Regions from separate parts of the Homo sapiens genome. Here regions 2, 3, 4, 5, 6 and 7 are each linked to region 1. The links are contacts of gene promoters, found by promoter capture Hi-C in blood cells and fetal thymus (Javierre and others, 2016). All regions are on one chromosome and are shown on one strand. Each heading gives the region's core, a stretch centred on a gene start or on the middle of the fragment in contact. The rest is flanking DNA. Distances are from core to core; before and after follow the strand shown. Region 1 holds the start of SNRNP27 (small nuclear ribonucleoprotein U4/U6.U5 subunit 27). Region 2 has its middle 24 kb from the start of FAM136A. Region 3 overlaps TIA1 (TIA1 cytotoxic granule associated RNA binding protein). Region 4 has its middle 3.9 kb from the start of C2orf42. Region 5 overlaps AAK1 (AP2 associated kinase 1). Region 6 overlaps PCYOX1 (prenylcysteine oxidase 1). Region 7 holds the start of GFPT1 (glutamine--fructose-6-phosphate transaminase 1).

Region 1 (2,863 bases), core at 291-2,790:
TTGAACCTCCCCATTCTACACCTAGTGCATGCTTTGCCAGGGTAATTCCAAAGGCATCTGGGGGTTGGGGCTGTTGGTAGAAATCCTAGATGTCATGGCTGGATCTTTCCTGGAAGTTTGGGTTGGGACAGGTATTAAACAGGCCACTCTGAATGTATAAATCTAATTAAAAATTTATGTGATTGGTGGGCATTTTTTCCAACCTAATAAAGTCCCTTTCCATCCCCCAGCTCTTTGTATTTTAAAAGCCAGGTCACTAGACTTGATAATTCTAGAGAGAGCTGACTGAAAAGAGTTGGTTTGATTAGAAACAGAGGTTCAACACTTTTACACTGTTGGTGGGAATGTAAATTAGCTCAACCATTGTGGAAGACAATGTGGTGTTTCCTCAAAGACCTAAAACCAGAAATACCATTTGACCCAGCAATCCCATTACTGGGTATATACCCAAAGGAATATAAATAATTTTATTACGAAGATACTTGCACGCATATGTTCACTGCAGTACTATTCACAATAGCGAAGACATAGAATCAACCCAAATGCCCATCAATGATAGACTGGATTAAAAAAATGTGGTACGTATACACCATGGAATACTACACAGCCATAAAAAGGAACGAGATAATGTCCTTTGCAGGGACATGGATGGAACTAGAAGCCATTATCTTCAGCAAACTAACACAGAAACAGAAAACCAAACATTGCATGTTCTCACTTATAAGTAGGAGCTGAACAATGAGAACACATGGGCACAGGGAGAGGAACAACACACACTGGGGCCTGTAGGGGGAGGAGCTGGGGAGAGGGAGAGCATTGGGAAGAATAGCTTAATAGATGCAAGGCTTAATGGGTTGATAGGTGTAGCGAACCACCATGGCACACATTTACCTATGTAACAAAACTGCACATCCTGCAAATGTACCCTGGAACAAAATAAAATAAAATAAGAAATAGAGGTTTGAGTCTTTCCTGGTAAGCATATTTATGCTCTACCACAGACGGTTCAGCCTTGGGGCAAGACAGTCTTTCTCCTAATTTTTGTAGTTTTGAACATTCTAAAGTTTTTGTTGTTGTTGTTGTTGTTTTCCCTGAGGACAGAGGCAACTTTGGGGAAGTACTTTGTCGGGTAGGATGGAATCTGGGGCCTTTAGTTTTCCTTCCAAGAGCCCATAGGAGGTTTTGGGTGCCTTCTCAATGCTGGCATGAGAAAATATAAAGCAGATGGACAGTGAACTTTGGTATATTCACTCCTTATGAATGTTATGTGGAAAAGTGGAAGAACATAAGCTGTTTGTCTATGCTATGTTTACAATTGGTTTGCTCTATTTTGTGCATGTGGACAAAAATGGGGGAAAAATGAAAGCTGTGTTAGGATAATGGGTATACGGCTGAATTTTCCAGGAATTTCTATAATAACACCAAATCGCATGTTTTAATGCCCACCGTGAACAAAGAAGACCGGAACCCTCGCAACTCGTTTTGACGTTTTCTGGTCGGCGGTAAAAGCTCGGTTCCCGGCCCTCCCGGAAGTTGTTGCACAGTTGTTTCCGGGAAGCGGGACTCCAAATGGGTCGCAGTCGCAGCCGCTCTCCACGGAGGGGTGAGTCCTGTAGCAATTCGGAGGATATGGGGCTCTGTTGGAGGCCTGTCCCTTTTGTTTTATTTTGTTTTGTTTTTGGTAGCCGCGTAGCAGAGAGGCGGGCCCTTTTCCCAGGCGGAGAGCGAGGGGTGGATAAAGGAACGTAGACCTGGGCCCTGCCCTCTTCAGCCCGCCCTCTCCGGTTTGAAGGCAGTTGTTTGTCTCTGAATTAGTTTCATTAAGTCTTTGTCACCTTCATACAATAACTTTTATTACACTGTGGCCGGTGGGTTTAGAATTAGACCTCAGTTCCTTTGCTGAATTTCTGGGCGACGGTGGGCAAGTCACTACTCAGCCTTTCTGAATCGAATTCCCAGAATGAGTCATTGAGGGTAGTATTGCCAACTTTTAAAAACTGATGTGAGAATTAATGTCACATCCCATAACATACAGTATGTGATTCTGCCTGGTTCTTAAATACTTAATAAATGTTAGATTCCTGCCCAGGTCATTACAGGGAAATCGATATTAAGAATTTTGAGTCCTGGGAGCTCACTTCGTAATGTTTTCTGGCTACCAGCCCCATAAATGAGGCAGCGCGACGTAAAGAACCCTGGACTTCCATTAGGAGATCTAACTTAGACCCTCGGTTCTGCCCCTGATTCGTTTTTTTTTTAAATCAATTTATTTATTTTTAATGAGACAGAGTCTCGCTCTGTCGCCCGCCCAGGCTGGAGTGCAGTGGCCGATCTCAGCTCACTGCAACCTCCACCTCCTGGGTTCAAGCGATTCTCATGCCTCAGCCTTCCGAGTAGCTGGGATTACCCGTCCGTGCCACCACGCCTGGCTAATTTTTGTATTTTTATTAGAGACGGGGTTTCGCCGCGTTGGCCAGGCTGGTCTCGAACTCCTGACCTTGTGATCCGCCCGCCAGCCTCACAAAGTGCTGGGATTACAGGCGTGAGCCACCGCTCCCAGCCTCTTTTTACCTTTTTAATGTGACTAGTAATGGTTTGCATTATTTTTCTACTGGACGGCGCAGCTCTAGATATTTGAGGTAATTATCAGTTCTGCAATTTGTGTGCGTTTGCATTAGAACGTAGGCGTTCCCGGTCCACATCCCGGGAGAGAGAACGCAGGCGCCGAGAAAGGTCCAGGTCTCGGGAGAGAGATCGGAGAAGGAGCCGCTCGCGATCCCCGCACCGAAGACGCTCCCGGTAAGGGCAGAAAATAAGCCAAGAGTTTTATTTACCGAAAGTCCCTAAGAAACTGGTCGCAGCT
Region 2 (3,236 bases), core at 450-2,949, 430 kb after region 1:
ATGTGTACTGGCCTTTTTATTTCTTCATGTGCACCAGGCTTCCAGGACCACAAAGGCTTTGCATACGCTCTTTCCTCCACCTGCAACTCTTCCCTCCCTTTTTGACTTAGTGCCTTCTCTCCTTTCAGATCTAAGTTTACTCATTGCTTCCTTCAGGAACCTTTCCTTACCTCTGTAATCAGTCAAATCCTCCCTACTCCTGGGCTACTCAAACTATGAAGCATCCTGGTAAGGTGCAGATTCTGGTTCAGAAGGTCTGGAGATGCTGTGTTTCTAACAAGCTCCCAGGTGGAGCCCAGGCTGCTGGTGCATGGACCACAGATTAAGTATTGTAATCCTTTTCTTCCCAGCACCAGTTGTGGTGTACTTTTATTTTTTATTTATTTATTTTTTTGAGATGGAGTTTCCCTTTTGTTGCCCGGGCTGGAGTGCAATGGTGCGATCTCGGCTCACTGCAACCTCTGCCTCCTGGGTTCAAGCGATTCTTCTGCCTCAGCCTCTCGAGTAGCTGGGATTACAGGCATGCACCACCATGCCCAGCTGATTTATATATATATATATATATATATATATATATATATTTTAGATGGAGTCTTGCTCTGTCGCCAGGCTGGATTGCAGTGTTATGATCTCGGCTCACTGTAACCTCTGCCTCCTGGGTTCAAGCAATTCTCCTGCCTCAGACTCCTGAGTAGCTGGGACTACAGGCGCACACCACCATGCCCAGCTAATTTTTGTATTTTTAGTAGAGACAGGGTTTCACCATGTTGGCCAGGATGGTCTCGATCTCTTGACTTAGTGATCTGCCTGCCTTGGCTGCCCAAACTGCTGGGATTACAGGTGTGAGCCACCACGCCCGGCTGATTTTATATTTTTAGTAAAGACGGGGTTTCTCCATGTTGTCAGGCTGGTCTTGAACTCCTGACCTCAGGTGATCTACCCGCCTTGGCCTCCCAAAGTGCTGGGATTACAGGCGTGAGCCACCACGCCCGGCCGTACTTTTACCTTTTTTATGGGATTATTTGACTAACATCTGTGTCCTCCACTAGATTGCAATAAGCATCATGAAGGCAGGGACCATGTCTATTTTGCTCACTGTTGTATTTAGTACTCAGCGTAGGGCCTGGTACATAGTTGGTGTTCAAGACATATTTGTTGAATAAATAAATGAGAAAAATGACGTCATTATCTACAGATATGGTAAGAAGGCATTTGATACAAATGTGTTTTGGCGAAATTACCTAATAAATTAAGGATGGAAAGTTTTCCTTGAATATGATAAAGAATATCTACCTTAAATATTAAAATGTATTATAAAGTATAGTATGGCAATAGACATAGAGAAAAATATTTACAAATGAATAACGAGCTCACAATAGATTCAAATATATATATAGGGATTTAATAAAAGATAAAGATGGCTTCAAATCACCAAGGAAAAAGAGGAGTCACTCAATCAACATATTAGAACAACTGGCTGGCCATTTGGGGAAAAAGTGATCTAAGTCTCATGTCAAAATAAACTCCAGATTTGAAATTTAGAAACATAACAAAAAAGTGCTAGGGGAAACACAGGCAAAACTGTTCTTATAATCTTGAGGCAGGATGATTCTAAGTAGGACATAAAGGAGAGAAATAAAACAGAAAAATATGGATATGCAAAAATTAAAAAACCCTTGTTCTTCACAAACTGGGAAAACATTTGTAACATATGTGTCTGATAAAAGAATGATAACAAAGTGTTTCTACCAATTAAAGAAAAAGGCAAAAAACTCAATAGAAAAGTGGGCAATTTAGCCGGGCAAGGTGGCTCACACCTGTAATCCCAGCACTTTGGGAGGCTGAGGCGGGCGGATCACCAGGTCAAGAGATCAAGACCATCCTGGCTAACATGGTGAAACCCCGTCTCTACTAAAAATACAAAAAAAAAAAAAAAAAAAAAAATTAGCTGGGCGTGCTGGCATGAGCCTGAAGTCCCAGCTACTTGAGAGGCCAAGGCAGGAGAATTGCTTGAACCTGAAGGTGGAGGTTGCAGGGTTGCAGTGAACAGAGATCGAGCCACTGCACTCCAGCCTGGTGACAGAGCAAGACTCAGTCTCAAAGAAAAAAAAAAAAAAAAGAGAAGTGGGCAATTCACCAAAGGAAAAAGAAATAGGAATGGCTAATAAGCATATCGTTGGAGAAGGCTTTGTCCTCCTAAAAAGATATGTTGAAGTCCCAACCCCTAGTACTTCAGACTGTGATCTTATTTGGAAATAGGGCCTGTACACTTGGATTAATTTATATTCTAGTTAAACTGAGGTCATAGAGTGGTCTCTAATCCATTGTGACTGGGTGTCCTTATAGAGTGGGGACATTTGGACAGAGGCAGACAGGCACAGAGGGAAGACACGTGAAGAGGCACAGAGAGAAGACAGCCCTGCAAGCCAAGGGACAGCTGAGGCTACCTGCAGCCAGGAGAGAGGCGGGAGCAGATCCTTCCCTACCATCTTCAGAGGTGAGACCATCAATATCTGTTGTTTTAGGCCACGCAGCTTGTCACACTTTGTTAGAGCAGCCTGAGGAAACTAATGCATGTATGAAATCATATTCAGTTTCACTAAACATTTAAGAAATCAAAAAGAAAACAAATCACGGTTCTTCCTATCACACAGTTCAACTCGTTGGCTAGCAGGGCAAAACCTTTTGCAGGCGAGGATGAGAGGAAAAAGGACCGTTTACACGGTGGTGATGTAAATGGTACGACTAGCCTGTAGAGCAAGGTCATTTAGCAGTGAATATCATAAGCCACAAATACATGAAAACTCCTTGACCCAACAATTCATCTTGAAGGAGGGAGATAAGCAGACATGTTTGGAAAGATATGTGAACTAGGATGTATAGTACAGCATTTATAATATTCCACGTTTGGAAGCAACTAAACGTGTAAGAACAGGAAACAGATTAAATAACTAACAAAAGGACCGTGCAATGAAGTACCCCACAGACACAAAGAACCACACTGTAGGAGAATTTTTTTTGGTAAGAAAGAAGTATGTTACATTTGATTGAGTGAAAAAACTCAAGTAACAAAATAGTTTATGCATCATGATTTATTTTTAAAATAAGAAACAAATGTTATATATACATGCCTAGAAGAAAATCTGAAGAATCACAGCACAACTGTTAAGGGTCATCACATAGGAGTGATTGGATTAGAAATGACTATAATTTTCTTCTGAATGTTTACAGGGGTT
Region 3 (2,961 bases), core at 316-2,815, 320 kb after region 1:
GTAAAACAGTTTGCGTAACATGGCATATTTTCTTTGCTATTTTTTTCAAAGATCTTGTAGTTCTGGGGCAACTTGTGTTAACAAAGAATGTGTGTTTCACTGGCCTTGTGTTAGGGAGGGAGCTATAAAATCACAGAGGCAAATACGCTGGATGCTAGAGAAATTTCAATTTTTTTTTTTTGAGATGGTGTCTGGCTCTGTTGCCCATGCTGGAGTGCAGTGATTGTGATCTTGGCTCACTGCAACCTCCACCTCCTGGGTTCAAGTGATTCTCCTGCCTCAGCCTCCCGAGTAGCTGTGATTACAGGCATGCACCGCCATGCCGGCTAATTTTTATATTTTTGTATTTTTAGTAGAGACGGGGTTTCACAATGTTGGCCAGGCTGGTCTCAAACTCATGACGGTGATCCACCCGTCTCGGCCTCCCAAAGTGCTGGGAATACAGGCGTGAGCCACCGCACCCGGCCAAAATTTCAACTTTTTTATAACCAAGGTAAATTTTTAAGAAAACGAGGTAAATGTTCAAAAAATATTTTGGAGGAAAAAGTTTTTTATTTTTATTTATTTTCTGGTTTTCCAGTTACATTACCAAGAAAAATGTTTTTTTAAAAAACCATCCCTACCGAACAAATGAATATCCTTTATCTGGAAAGACTCGAATTTCCATTATTTGTCCAAATGGTGAAAAAGTCTGACGCATTAGTTGTTCTGTTAGACAAAAAACCAAAACAAACAAATCACACTAAGTTATATAAAAATCCTACAAATATTAAGCTTTGCACTTTAAAAATTAATGCCACACAGGGAAGGCTCCCATACCTGTTAGCCCAGAAGTAACACCTCCACAGTATACAGTACAGTTGCTTGGACTAGACTGATTTACAACCTCATCATATGATAGCTGTTTGGTATTTGCTGGTGAGAGAAAAGGTTTATGTCTTTAATTCATTAAATAAAATGTGCAGAAAGAGAAAAGTAGCATTCACTACACTACTGTAAAGGTAACATTAACCTTGATCAAAATGCTTATATTACACATATTATACTTCAGTTCAGAATTAAACCTCCCCCACGAATGTCTAAAAAATTACCCAGTATTTTCTATTTAATAGGAGACTTGACATTAGAAATAATATTATTTATAATTACAAAAATGAAAACTAAGTACATTTTTGAATAGTAGTCTTGATTTGCTTCTCATCTATTTCTGCAATAAGTCTCCGGGAACAGCTCTAACATTTAAAATCTAGCGTATTTTTCTCCAAAATTCCACATTTCCTTTTCTTCTCCAATACACCTACACTCATATGTACTCTTTGGAGCGGGAGGCTTTCGGGTTGCCCAGTTAGTTCTGATTTGTCTTCCACCAAGCCACTGGCCACCCATCTGTTGAATGGCGTTTTCAGCATCCTGTTCCGTACAACATTAGAAACAATAAAGAAGTCACTATTAGTTGATGTTAAACAACTCTTAGCAGTAGAGAAAACTTGGTGCTTTTCACAAATGTTTAAGTGAAAATGCTCTATGAAATACACAACATATGATAGCTTTCCTAAAATGCAATGGTGCTTTTTATATTTTTAAATTTTATTTTATTTATTTTTTCAGATAGAGTCTCGCTCTGTCACCCAGGATGGAGTGCAGTGGTGTGATCTTGGGTCACTGCAACCTCCGCCAACTGGGTTCAAGCGATTCTCCTGCCTCAGCCTCCTGAGTAGCGGGGATTACAGGCATCTGCCACCATGCCTGGCTAATTTTTGTATTTGTAGTAGAGATGGGGTTTCGCCATATTGGCCAGGCTGGTCTCGAACTTCTTCTTCTTTTTTTTTTCTTTTTTAAGTCTCGCTCTGTGGCCCAGGCTGGAGTGTAATGGCGTGATCTCGGCTCACTGCAAGCTCTGCCTCCCAGGTTCACGCCATTCTCCTGCCTCAGCCTCCCAAGTAGCTGGGACTACGGGCACCTGCCACCACGCCTGGCTCATTTTTTGTATTTTTAGTAGAGACACGGTTTCGCCATGTTAGCCAGGATGGTCTCGATCTCCTGACCTCGTGATCCTCCCAACTCGGCCTCTCAAAGTGCTGGGATTACAGGCGTGAGCCACTGTGCCCGGCCCTGGTCTCAAACTTCTGACCTCAAGTGATCTGTCCACCTCAGCTTCCCAAAGTGCTAGGATTACAGGCATGAGCCACCATGCTCAACCCAATGGTGCTTTTGTATTGTTTTTCTCTTATTTGAATATTAAATTTTGGGAACATTAATCATCTGAAAAGGTCGTGAGCCCGACAGCCCTAATGAGGTAGATATCATAAAGTTCATGCAACTCAGACTACTATAGAAGAAAATCTTAAACAATCTAACAAGCTTGTTAACAATATTTGGTTTCTCATTCATCCAACAAATAAATATTGAACAGTTATGTTCCAGGCATGCGGTTAAGAGCTAGGGACACACTGGTAAACAAGCATACATGGTCTCTTACATTCTTTTGTGGGGAACAAATAAAGCAATTACATATTGTGGTAAGACCTATGACAGAAACAAAAGGCTGAGATAGAGAATATGGGCACAAGGATCTACTACAGACAGGATGAATAAGAAAGGTCTCTCTGAAATGACATTTAAACTAAGCCTGACAGCAATAGGAGATAGCCAAGTCAAAACAATGAGGAAGAAAGCCCCAGTAGAGAGAAAAGTATTGCAAAGTGTGTTAAGGCACAAAAGTTTGGTATGCATCTGAAAGCAGCATGTGAAAGACTAGTTTCAGTGGAATCCAGCGAGCAAAAAAGAATGTCAGAGAATGAAACTGAAAGATTTTAAGCAAGGAATCATCATGACCTATGTTTTAAGAAGGCCATTCTTTTTTTCGAGATGGAGTCTTGCTCTGTCTCCCAGGCTGGAGTGCAGTGGCGCGTTCTTGGCTCACTGCAAGCTCCGCCTCCTGGGTTCCTGCCATTCTCCTGT
Region 4 (2,916 bases), core at 213-2,712, 300 kb after region 1:
CCACTGCACCCGGCTCCGCCCCCCCCCTTTTTTTTTTTTTTTTTAATTTTTGAGACAGGGTCTTACTCTGCTGCCCAGGCTGGAGTGCAGTGGCGTGATCTGCAGTCTCAATTTCTCAAGCTCAATTGATCCTCCCTCCTAAGCCTCCTGGGTAGCTGAGACTACAGGAGCTCGCCACCATGCCCAGCTAATTTTTGTATTTTTTGTAGAGATTGGGGGTGGTGGTGGGTCTCTCTGTGTTGCTCAGGCAGTGGTCTTGAACTGGCCCCAGGCAATCCTCCCACCTCAGCCTCCCAAAGTTGCTGGGATTACAGGCATGAGACACCATGCTCGGCTAAAGCCATTTTCAATGAAAAGAATTTGGCCAGATATACAGTGGCTCACACCTGTAATCCCAGCACTTTGGGAGGCCGAGGTGGGCGGATCACCTAGGTCAGGAGTTTGAGACCAGCCTGGTCAACGTGGCAAAACTCCCTCTCTACTAAAAATACAAAAATTAGTGGGGTGTGGTGGTGGGCGCCTGTGATCCCAGCTACCTGGGAAGCTGAGGCAGGAGGATCGCTTGAACCTGGGAGGCAGAGGTTGCAGTGAGCTGAGATGGCACCACTGCACTCCTGCCTGGACAACAGAGTAAGACTCCATCTCAAAAAAAAAAAAAAAAAAAAAAAGGGCGGGCACGGTGGCTCACGCCTGTAATCCCAGCACTTTTGGAGGCCGAGGCGGGTGGATCATGAGGTCAGGAGATCGAGACCATCCTGGCTAACACGGTGAAACCCCGTCTCTACTAAAAATACAAAAAAATTAGCCAGTCGTGGTGGCGGGCGCCTGTAGTCCCAGCTATTGGGGAGGCTGAGGCAGAAGAATCGCCTGAACCCGGGAGGCAGAGGTTGCAGTGAGCCAAGATCGCACCACTGCACTCCAGCCTGGGTGACAGAGTGAGACTTCGTCTCAAAAAAAAAAAAAAGAAAAAAAAAGAATTTATATGCTATTTGCACATTAGAGCAGATATTCATAGTTCTTTGATTTTTGCCAACTGACAATAATTATTTTTTAACTTCTCTCATCCTTCTAGCCCCTGTTATCATTTCTTTTTCTTTTTCTTTTTCTTTTTTTTTTTTGAGACGGAGTTTCGCTCATTGTTGCCCAGGCTGGAGTGCAATGGCGCGATCTCAGCTCACCTTAAACTCTGCCTCCCAGGTTCAAGCGATTCTCCTACCTCAGCCTCCCGAATAGCTGGGATTACAGGCATGCGCCACCACGCCCGGCTAATTTTGTATTTTTAGTAGAGATGGGGTTTCTCCATGTTGGTCAGGCTGTCCTCAAACTCCTGACCTCTGGGATTCACCCGAATCAACCTCCCAAAGAGCTGGGATTACAGGTGTGAGACACCGCTCCTGGTGCCCTGTTGTCATTTTAATCCAATATTTTTTTCTTTTAAAAAATTTTTTGGAGTATTGGTACATGCCTGTAATCTCAATTATTTGGGAAGCTGATGCAGGAGTATTGCTTGAGCTCAGAAGTTTAAGAGTTTGAGGCCAGCCTGGGCAACATAGCAAGACCCCTTCTCTTAAAAATAAAGTATTGATACATAATAGATGTACATATTTTGGGGGTACATGTAATAATTTAATAAATTCATATAATCTGTAAAGATCAAATCAGTGTAACTGGGATATCCATCACCCTAAATATTTGTCTTTATGTTAGAAACATTGAATTATTCTCTTCTATTTTGAAATGTACAACAGATTATTATTGTAAGCTATAGTCACCCTATGATCTATCAAACATGATGTCTTATTTCTTCTACTAAACTGTATACTTGTACTCATTAATCAACCTTTCTTCATCCCTTCCTGACCCCCTTAAATCACTATTTTTTTTTTTTTAGATGGAGTTTCGCTCTTTTGCCCAGGCTGGAGTGAAGTGGTGCAATCTCGGCTCACTGCAACCTCCGCCCCCCAGGTTCAAGCGGTTCTCCTGCCTCAGCCTCCCAAGTAGCAGGGATTATAGGCACCCACAACCACACCTGGCTAATTTTTTTTTTTTTTTTTTTTTTTTTTTGAGAGGGAGTCTTGCTCTGTCACCCAGGCTGGAGTGCAGTGGTGCGATCTTGGCTCACTACAACCTCCGCCTCCCGGGTTCAACTGATTTTCCTGTCTCAGACTCCCGAGTAGCTGGGACTCTAGTTGCCTGCCACCACGCCCGGCCAATTTTTGTATTTTTAGTAGAGACAGGTTTCACCATATTGGCCAGGCTGGTCTCGAACTCCTGACCTTGTGATCCTCCCACCTTGGCCTCCCAAAGTGCTGGGATTACAGGCGTGAGCCACTGTGTCTGGCTGTACCCTTCATATTTTGTACCCTCTTCTTGTACTGTTCCGAATTACAGATTCTCTTCTTCAGCTGTATCTAATTTGTTTAGTCAGCCTATTGAATTTTTAATTTAAGCTATTGTATTTTTAATTTCTAGAGGTTCTATTAGTTTTTCAAAAATCTGCCTAATCATTTGACAGTCATTTCTTCCTTGTTCATATTTGTATTACATCTTTTATTTTTAAAGACATGAAATGTAGTTATTACAAATTCAATATGTGATTTTCTAAAGTTCTTGTAGGTCCAGTTCTGCTGTTCTTTGTTTCTGTTGGATCTCTTGTAGAGTCTTGTTTCCTCATGTGTTTCATAGGTTTTTTGTTTGTTTGTTTTTTGAGACGGAGTTTTACTCTCACCCAGGCTGGAGTGCAGTGGTGCAATCTCGTCTCACTGCAACCGCTGCCTCCTAGGTTCAAGTGATTCTCCTGCCTCAGCCTCCCGAGTAGCTGGGATTACAGGCATGCACCACTACATCTGGCTAATTTTTGTATTTTTAGTAGAGATGGAGTTTCACCATGTTGGCCAGGCTGGTCTCGATCTCCTG
Region 5 (3,080 bases), core at 115-2,614, 360 kb before region 1:
CATTGTGGACATGAGGAGAAAATGGGTCAGGCTCTTATTGGAGTCACAAATCTAAAGAAGCTTTTTATCATGAAAGTCTGTGATTCAGTATCTGCAGAGACTTTAATAACCTACTCACCATTATTTCCACTTAGATCGCCTTATGAGCAGGAAGAAAGGAGCAATTTAGGGTTCAGTAAAAAGCACATCTGTTTGACTGATAATGTCATGGTTGTTGTGATCATACTTAAAAACATGCTAGTACTTTTACGGTGTGTGCACCTCTCAGCTTTTTATAGGCTCTGTGACATCATAAATCAAAACATCTATGTACAATGACCACAGGACCACTGATAAAGTGCTCTAAGAGTCCTTCCTTTTACTCTGATGTATGCCTGTAAACCCCCTCCTCATTCTTCACTTAAAGTCAAACAACCCAACTGTAAACATGATGCTCTGAGATGAAGGACAACTGACTATCACCATTCTCTCCCCACCCTGACCTTCTCATCCATAAGCTGAAGGTAAAGTTGCTCATCTGATTGTGGACAAAACTCCATGAAAGGAGAAAAAGCTTACTTCTTAATCTCATCTTCTACTGCATTGACTCCCTCAGTTTGTGGATTCTGGAATTTGTTGGTGGCGCTTCCAAAGTCACACAGGACATAGTGGCCTCGGTCATGCAAGAGGATGTTTTCAACCTGAAAAACATTCCCCAACCACCCATTCCAAGATATCATTTAGTAATGCACGTGAAAATTTGGTTTCACAGTCACATAAATAAACGTTTTATTTCTGGCAGTCTCATTAATGTGCACAGGGAAGTTATTCCTCTCCAAGTATCTCAACAGGGGTCATCCCAAGTGGAACACAGGAGATGCAGAGTAAGAGGGAAAAGTGGGTGGAGAGGGAAAAAAGAGGAAACTCCACGGTGGGGGATGCAAGAGTGCCATTTTTGTAAATTTCAGCCACATTTCTCACCTCTGCAGAAACCATCCTCATACTTTCAAGCCTCTGACCTGTGCCTTTGCTCTTGCTCTTCTTTTAGGCCAGGATGCCCTCCACAACCCCACCTCCTTAGCCAACTATCAAAATCTCATTTCAAACCCCAGTTCAAATGCCATGTCCTTTTTGAAACTTTCAGGCTCCCACTCAGATAAAATGTCACTCTTTCCCTATTGTCCTTCAGTATTTCATTCTCTCATGATGTGAATTACTTCACTTGGACCTTATAAGTACCTATATAAATGTCTTTACTACACTAGGTTAGGATATTCAGAATTAATATTGCTTATGTTTCAGTTACTTCTCAATGTGATAAAATGTCTGGGGATAAATGGGCAGTTTTCCTGTTAATGTATTGCCCTAATTTTTTAAATAAATGAATTCTTTGGGCAGTGAGTTAGGAGTTCTAGGCAGCAGGGAGCTTATAAAGCCCCAAATCTAGAGAAATCCCTGGTATCAAAGGACTCTACAAATGAAATGACAACTCCAAAATAGTGGGCACTATGTACTCAAGGTGTACTGATTTTGGGTCTAGGTGAACTGAGCTGACTAGTATGCCGGAGGACAGACCTGGCTATGTGTGGGCAGTAAAATGGCAGCCAAAAAATCTTGTTAGGCCATTAAGACTGTAGTCTCCATTGTCTTTTGCCTTCAGCCTTCCAAAGACTGATCACCTTTGGAAAACAAAGGCAAGAGTAGACTATAAAATAGTCTACTCTGAAAGATAAGCTCCTTAAAGATAAGCATCTTCTTATAATCATATTCTTGGTCTTCTCTACCTAGTGCCTAACACAATGCTTGGTATAAAAAATGTATGTTGAATGGAATAAACCAAAAAACACTGTGTAGGTGTGTGTATGTGTGTGCAAACCTGGTGTGTCAGGCGCAAGATAGGAGCCACCAAATATCCAGGCCGTACTACTGTACTACTACTGATTCTTTTAAAAACAACTGGTCAATTATAATAGTCTCTAATTTCTATACTTGTTTCTATACTTTCTTTTAATTCTTCTAAGAATTACATTAAGTATATTTTATAGTCTGTATCTGCCAATTCCAATATTTGAAGTCTCTGCTGCCAACTGATTCTGCAGTTTATTGTTTCTTACTCCTACTAAACCTTGCTTATGGTGGTGTTGTGAGGAGCTTTTTGTTTTTGTTAACTTACATTCCTTGGAACTTAATCTGTAAAAAGCTTGTAAGATCTGGGTTTAAAGTCTATTGTTCTTCCAGAGAGGATATACTGGTGTAGCTGGGGGCACTACTACCCTGGAATCACTTTAATCTATAATTTTGACCTTGGAATTTCCAGCCACATAGGTAGTTTGAACTACAGCCATCAACCTGCACAGGTATGTTCTATGATGAACAATTCTTAAGCATAGGGTTATGAAAGATTAGGAGAGATTCATTCCTTTGAGATAAGGCTGAGGCACGCAAATATTTCCATCATCTATGTCTTTTTTATAAAGCTCACCAGTTTAATCTATTTACACAAAGTGACACAGTCAAGCTTCCTGAGCATATACACACTTTAGGAATTTAAAATAATTCCAACAAAACAACGCTAATGTTTTCAATCTAATTTAGAGGTTATAAAAATAACAGCCATCATTTTCTGAGCTTTATTATTGCCAGTACTACTGTACTCAGCATTTTACATGGATTATCCCACTACATCCTCATAATCCCAATATGATTATTATCCTTCTCTCACAGATGGAGAAAATGAGGCTCAGAGTGATTAAGTCACTTGCTAAATGTCACACAGCCAATAGTTGGTACAGCTGGGAAGTGAACCTAAACAACCTCACTCTAGAAAGGATAGGCAATTATATTCCTGCTACAGGAAGCAGGTTAGAAGCAGAGCAATTACTCAAGGCCCCCATCCTTACTTCCAACTATAGTAGGGGAGACAATACTTGTCTAATGCATTGGGTGCAAGCTTAAGGACAGGACTTTCTTGGTGCTTTATGTTCAGAAATGCCCCCACAATAGAAATCTAGTGAATAAGGAATGAAGTGTCTAAACACTAGCCAGGCTGATTTGTTCGATGTCTCCTAAGCATTCCATACACAACCTAATTTGTCCTTTTA
Region 6 (3,087 bases), core at 8-2,507, 380 kb after region 1:
CAGATATTTTGCCATTATCATTGTTTAATAAAAGTAATCCCTGCTGGTCATAGGAAAACACACGGTTCTAATTAAGTGTGAAGGTATAGCTATTGCACTTATGCCATCTCCAAAATTTCTTAAGTATTCTTTCACTATCCATTAGGAGTTTTTCTTAAACTTGTCTGATAATAAGAATCACCTGGAGTTAGGAGGTGGTGGTTGCAGTGAGCCAATCTCACCATTGCACTTCAGCCTGAGCAACACGAGCAAAACTCCGTCTCAAAAGTAAATAAAAATAATCACCTGGAGTTTGTTAAACCATATGGATTCTCAAGCTCCTCTCTTGAAGATTCTGATTCAGTAGGTCTGGGAGTGGCGCGCTGGATTTTGATCAAAATTGTAGAGCATTTTAAGGTGAGTACCTGAGGGAGAACTTAAAGACATCTTAGTTGGGGAGTAGTCCTTTTGAATTTTACAGCTAGATATAATCTTCAGTCAGATAAAATTTATGGGAGCTGGTGTCTTATGCCTGACTCTTAGTAATTTCATACCGGTTTGAAGTACGTGTGCCCATGCCTAAAGCCTTGACTTTCAGAATGTTGTCTTTTGATTCTTCTGTCTTGATTTGATTAGGGGTGAAATTTAGAAGTCTTAGTAATGTAACTTGAAGATGTTAAACAAAAATCTCAAGTAAAATGAAAAGCAAATATGGGCTACTGAATTAAGAAACTGGCATTCTAGTATTAAATCCTCACTTCAGGAGCTTTTAAAAATACTGAGACCCCCCCATAACCAGAGATTCAGATTCAAAGACTGAGGATAGGACCTTAGCATTGTAGCTATTTAAAGTTTCTAATGTGCACCCAGGGTTGGGAATCACCAATGTGGGTGTGAAAATGCCTACAAAGGGTTTTAGTGCCTTAGAAGTCCTAAGAAGCCCAATCTGTATCAAAGCAGATCCATTTTGCAAGGATCTTTCTTTTAGAACTTTCTCAGTTCTCTTAGTAAGAACTTTAGAAGTAATCTTGATAATAAGCACAGACAGCCTAACAGCAGAGGCAACTTAAATAACTCCTGAGCAGTTGGCACTAGAACAGAATACTTGGAATGACACCAAAGTTAACCAAGTCCAGCATATGTCCAAAGAGTTAAGTGTTTCATTTACTGTAGCATTCTGGGTGAGAAATTGGTTGCTGAAATCTTAAGACAGTGGTCTCAACCTTGGCTGCACATTGGAATCACCTGTAGGGTTTTAAAGCATCCAAATGGTAATTAACAGGCAGCAAAACTTCAGAACTAGTTCTGCATCTACTGTGCAAAGATCATGATTAACTGTCAAGACACTGGTAGAACAGAACAAGCAAAAGATTAAGAGTTCAAAAGTAAATGCAACCAATTTAACATGTAGTGTTATTAAAAAATTACAAAGGCCTAGACCAGCCTGGGCAACATGGTGAAACCCCATCTCTACAAAAAATTTTTAAAAAGTTGGCCAGGCATGGTAATGCGCGCCTGTGGTCCCAGCTGCTCGGGAGGCTGAGGTGGGAGGATCACTTGAGCCTTGGAGGTCAAGGCTGCAGTGAATCATGATCATGCCACTGTACTCCAGCCTGGGCAACAGAGACCATCTTAAAAAAAAAAAATCCTTCCATTGAATAGAAACTTCAAAGTCCTTCATCAGATCATGGCATTAGCTACTTTAGCAAAATAGTGTAAACTTTGGTTCTGAGTAAAAATGACTTCTTCCCTACCACAGTTGTGAATGTTAATATGCTGATAAAACTGCCAAGATATATTTGATAGGTAGGGGATTAAACTCATGGTTTGTCAAAAGAGTGTTTTTTTCTAGTTTTATTCTTAACAGATATGTTGAGGTATTCATATTTGTTTCCTTTTGTGGTTTTAATGAAGACAATTTGTAAAGTAATACTGTTATGTATATGCTAAATGTTGGTAAATACTAATTAATTTCCATCATTTGTAGACTTGTTTTGCAATGGGATATATTTTTACTTATAATACCAATTTAGGCTGGGCGCAGTGGCTCACGCCTGTAATCCCAGCACTTTGGGAGGCCAAGGCAAACGGATCACGAGGTCAGGAGATCAAGACCATCCTGGCCAACATGGTGAAACCCCATCTCTACTGAATACACAAAAATTGGCTGGACATGGTGGCGCATGTCTGTAATCCCAGCTACTGTAATCTCAGCTACTTGGGAGGCTGAGGCAGGAGAATTGCCTCAACCGGGAGGCGGAGGTTGCAGTGAGCCAAGATCGCACCACTGCACTCCAGCCTGGCAACAGAGCGAGACTCTGTCTCAGAAAAAAAAAACAAAAACCAGTTTAGGCTGGGTATGGTGGCTCACCAGCACTTTGGGAGGCTGAGGCAGGTGGATCTCTTGAGGTCGGGAGTTTGAGACCAGCCTGGCCAACATGGTGAAACCCTGTCTTTACTAAAAATACAAAAATTAGCCAGGCATGGTGGCGTGTGCCAGTAATCCCAGCTACTTGGGAGGCTGAGGCGCGAGAATCGCTTGAACCCTGGAGATGGAGGTTGCAGTGAGCAGAGATCGCACCACTGCACTCCAGCCTGGGCAAGAGTGAGACTGTGTCTCAAAAGGAAAAAAAAAAAATTAAAAATGTTGCTGGTATTACATCAAACCTACTCTGGATAAATTTTCCAGTAGGGCATCTGAAATTGCTTTGGCAAAAGCAAAACAGGTTATCAATACACCAAGGACATCAAGTAGTTTTAATGCAACTACAGTGTTGAGTGCTTTTTTACTGGGAGAAAAATCCTAGCAGAACCTGCTACTCTGGGCGCATTAGGTAGTTTTATGCAACTATAGTATTAAGAGTTTTATTGGAAGAAAAAACACTGTCAGAGCTTACTGCTCCAGACCTTTTTTTTTAATAGAAGAGACTGGTAAAAATGATGCAGGGGCTGAATGAAAGCCAGCTCTGCTCCAGTGGCTCTCTGAGTTGAGCATGCATCAGTTACCTTAAGGGCTTGTTAAAACATCGCTAGGCTCCACCCTGTTTATTCAATAAGTTTGTTATGGGATATAAGAAGATGCATTTTATTAAGTTCCCCAGTGATGCT
Region 7 (2,843 bases), core at 238-2,737, 510 kb before region 1:
TCTACTAAGTAGACACTGCAAAAGTCTGATTCTGAAGTCAGCTCTACTCTAATAATTTCAGTAAGCTATTTATAGGTGTTTCTGTTTTTATGTGGGTTTTTTTTTAATCTACTCTAAATTTAAACCTGCTCCTCATTTTCAGAAGCTGAAATGAGCATAAAGTTAAATACAGGAAATATATACACTAACGAGTACAATCCACCTCCTGTTCAGTTCCTTCGTGTAAAAGGCTGCAAATAAGAAGTCTCCCAGAGAGTTTTCAATTCTCTTACAATGGTACTTCCCTTTAAAAAAAAAAAAAAAAAGTGTACTTTCTTCCAGGGATAAAGTCGGTTGTAAATTTCAATAAGAAAGGTAAGAATACAATTATTTTTACTGGCAATAGCCAAATTAACACCAATTTTAGAAGATATCAGTCATGTCAGACACGATTCTCAAAGTCTCTTTCACTAACACTTAGGTCATAATAAACGACTCTCAAAACATGGAATAAAAGGGCCTAACCTTAATTTTTTAAGGCTCTAGGAAAGATATTTGCTCAACTTTCCATAGCTAGTATTTTTAATGGATGCACATGCAAGGGATAAATGATATTTTTCATAGTTGGTATTCTAAAGGGGTATACATCCAAGGTATAACTGATATTTTTCAGAGCTGGCATTTTTAATGGGTGCACACGCAAATGATAAATTATGTATAACCTATCGCCACAGACATTTGAAGGCCTCTTCCACCAGAGGATCAGGTCTAAGCCCATGAACCAAGTTATTGATTAGCAATGGTTTCTGTTGAGACAAGGGATGGCAGGAAGTATCACGTTTAATGGCACTACCGTGGCTCTAGCTAGGGTCTGTTTTCTATTGGGCCTCCCCAGAAACAAGTAAAATATTTTTTTAAAGATTTTTAGAAAAATGCAAGGTAAGTTCAAGAGACCTCGCCCGAGGTTCCACAGGTTTCCTCACTCACCTGGTGGGCCCTTTTGAAGGCAACCCCCTCCACACCTCAATTCCCTCAGCTCTCTCCTCCTTTTTCAATAAAGGCGTTTCTCTCCCCTTTCGGTTCCTTCTCCGCGCCAAGGCGCCCGCTAGCCCCCGGCAAAGGGGGCCCGCCTTCCTCTCAGGTGCCTTTCTCCCGGCCGCCACCCCCTCTCCCGCCCGTGGATGCCGGCCCCCGCCCCCGCAGCCACCACTGGGCGCCCCTTGCCCATCACCCAGACTTCGCACCCTCCACACTCCCGCTTCCGCCCGTCGCCTTGGGCCTTAGCGGCACCCGCACCGCACCCCAGCGCCACCCGGCAACACGCCCCCCGCTCCCGGCCCCCTTACCACACATGATGCCGGAGACACGGCCCGCGAGGCCAGGGGCGAGTGGCTGGCGGGATCGGGGGTGCACACACGAGCTTCGGTGGGCAATCTGCGGGCTCGGGGGCCGGGGTGGCGCCGACACGACTCCCTCGGGGATGCGACGGCCAAGGCAACGACAGCCTTCTCCGCCTCCCGGGCTCCGCCAGCAACCGCCGCCGGGCCCCGCCCCTCGGCGCGCAGCGCGCCGCCGCCCGTAGGCTCCATTGAACCGCTCACGCGCCGCTCACGCGCAAGTCCCGCCTCCCAGCGCTGCCCCGCCCCCCGAGCCCACGCAGGCGCTGGACTGCTGGCGGCGGCGACGTGGCAGTGGCTCGTGGCCGCGTCCGCCTGGAGTTCCTGGAGACGCCCGCCCCGGGGCGAGCCGCGGGAGGGACCGAGCCGAGAGGGAGGGAGAAACTCAGCACCTGGCAGGGAATGACGGAAAGAGAAGGATGGAATTGTTAGCAAAGCAATAGCCCGGGTGCGTGCCCCGTGCAGCCCCAGGCCCCAGGCGCCAGCACTGCACGAAGCGAGGAAAGAGGAGGAAAAAAGCAGGAAGTATGAAAAGGGAATCCTGGGGAACATAAGGCTGAAAAAAATTGCAAAGAATTAGGTTGAGGTGGGAGGAGAGAGATAACAAAATTCTTGACTGTAAAGCCCCAAAGGTCAGCCTCTCTGGTAATAAGCAATTCAATTCCTTGTGTAATATGCTTGGCCCCTAAAAGCCCTCCGCATCCGTTGCCTCCATAACCCTCAGTTTATTGTGGAGGGGTAGAGGAGGAATGTAAGGCTCAACTATCCGACTATGAGCCTGGACGTAAGAAACTGCTGGCCCACCTCCTCCCATGACCCACCTGAGACGGCTAGGAATTCCCTAGCTTTAACAGCCGCGCGTTTGACTTACGAACGATTCATTCTATGAATTAATGCGCCATGTCTGACAAGAGAGACTTGATTAGAGAGGGATGATGTTTCTGAGAATTTATTACCTGGGCATTTGCTTTAAACAGCCTTAAATGGTATCTTTAGTCAAATGTGGAGTAATCAGAACTCTATAATGGCTCTAGAGTAGAGTAGTATCAAAAACGTACATGGCACACAGAATTCCTGGAGTGCTGACTGCTGTTCATGTGTCTGGTCTTAGCCTGCTGACTGCTGTTCATGTGTCTGGTCTTAGCCGTCCTTCCAGCCCTATACACTCCCAACAGGCTCAACAGGTAGTTCCTCAACTGGGCCAAGATTCTCAAATCTTTTGCACACTTTGGTTACTCTGCATAGAATCCCCACCACGTCTCTGTTTAGATGCTACCTCTTCAGGAAAGCCTTTTTTATCCCCCCTAGACAGACTTGGAGACATGCATTAACCTCTTACTCTTTGAGCTACTCACTGTAAAGAAATATTCTTTGATATTTTATGATTTTCTGTATTTTCCCACTGGGCTGTAAGTTTCTTGAAGCTAGAACTAGATTTTACATACCCAACACTTTTAGACCACAGCA

What was found. The method cuts DNA at HindIII sites, captures the fragments that hold promoters and counts their contacts. A CHiCAGO score of 5 or more calls a contact.
Region 2: a fragment that was not itself captured here is called in contact with the fragment with the promoter of SNRNP27 in region 1 in 1 of 17 cell types (neutrophils); the score reaches 5.1 in neutrophils.
Region 3: a fragment that was not itself captured here is called in contact with the fragment with the promoter of SNRNP27 in region 1 in 9 of 17 cell types (total CD8 T cells, naive CD8 T cells, fetal thymus and 6 more); the score reaches 9.5 in total CD8 T cells.
Region 4: a fragment that was not itself captured here is called in contact with the fragment with the promoter of SNRNP27 in region 1 in 1 of 17 cell types (total CD8 T cells); the score reaches 5.8 in total CD8 T cells.
Region 5: a contact is called between a fragment that was not itself captured here and the fragment with the promoter of SNRNP27 in region 1, in 2 of 17 cell types (naive CD8 T cells and total CD8 T cells). The highest score is 5.3, in naive CD8 T cells.
Region 6: a fragment that was not itself captured here is called in contact with the fragment with the promoter of SNRNP27 in region 1 in 1 of 17 cell types (neutrophils); the score reaches 6.1 in neutrophils.
Region 7: a contact is called between the fragment with the promoter of GFPT1 here and the fragment with the promoter of SNRNP27 in region 1, in 1 of 17 cell types (total CD8 T cells). The highest score is 7.7, in total CD8 T cells.

The regions. Positions count from the first base shown.
Region 1 is chr2:69,892,416-69,895,278 of GRCh38, forward strand. SNRNP27 (small nuclear ribonucleoprotein U4/U6.U5 subunit 27) reads left to right here and starts at 1,541. Exons shown (of 6, transcript NM_006857.3): 1 at 1,541-1,603; 2 at 2,679-2,799. The coding sequence starts at 1,570. RefSeq lists enhancers at 1,166-2,101, 1,844-1,903, 2,102-2,863. The HindIII fragment of the contact is 14,817 bases long and covers 1-2,863 here.
Region 2 is chr2:70,324,894-70,328,129 of GRCh38, forward strand. No RefSeq gene overlaps it. Among named protein-coding and RNA genes, the nearest start is that of FAM136A, 24 kb to the left of the region's middle. The HindIII fragment of the contact is 7,913 bases long and covers 1-3,236 here.
Region 3 is chr2:70,215,585-70,218,545 of GRCh38, forward strand. TIA1 (TIA1 cytotoxic granule associated RNA binding protein) reads right to left here. Exons shown (of 13, transcript NM_022173.4): 8 at 1,302-1,410; 9 at 820-915; 10 at 624-708. Among named protein-coding and RNA genes, the nearest start is that of C2orf42, 26 kb to the left of the region's middle. The HindIII fragment of the contact is 1,587 bases long and covers 773-2,359 here.
Region 4 is chr2:70,193,442-70,196,357 of GRCh38, forward strand. No RefSeq gene overlaps it. Among named protein-coding and RNA genes, the nearest start is that of C2orf42, 3.9 kb to the left of the region's middle. The HindIII fragment of the contact is 4,295 bases long and covers 1-2,916 here.
Region 5 is chr2:69,531,483-69,534,562 of GRCh38, forward strand. It overlaps AAK1 (AP2 associated kinase 1), which reads right to left. Exons shown (of 22, transcript NM_014911.5): 6 at 559-680. Among named protein-coding and RNA genes, the nearest start is that of SNORA36C, 13 kb to the left of the region's middle. The HindIII fragment of the contact is 1,626 bases long and covers 552-2,177 here.
Region 6 is chr2:70,277,479-70,280,565 of GRCh38, forward strand. It overlaps PCYOX1 (prenylcysteine oxidase 1), which reads left to right. Exons shown (of 6, transcript NM_016297.4): 6 at 1-3,087. Among named protein-coding and RNA genes, the nearest start is that of SNRPG, 15 kb to the right of the region's middle. The HindIII fragment of the contact is 6,133 bases long and covers 1-3,087 here.
Region 7 is chr2:69,385,740-69,388,582 of GRCh38, forward strand. GFPT1 (glutamine--fructose-6-phosphate transaminase 1) reads right to left here and starts at 1,488. Exons shown (of 20, transcript NM_001244710.2): 1 at 1,326-1,488. The coding sequence starts at 1,332. RefSeq lists silencers at 1,068-1,737, 1,798-1,907 and an enhancer at 1,280-1,839. The HindIII fragment of the contact is 6,543 bases long and covers 1-2,843 here.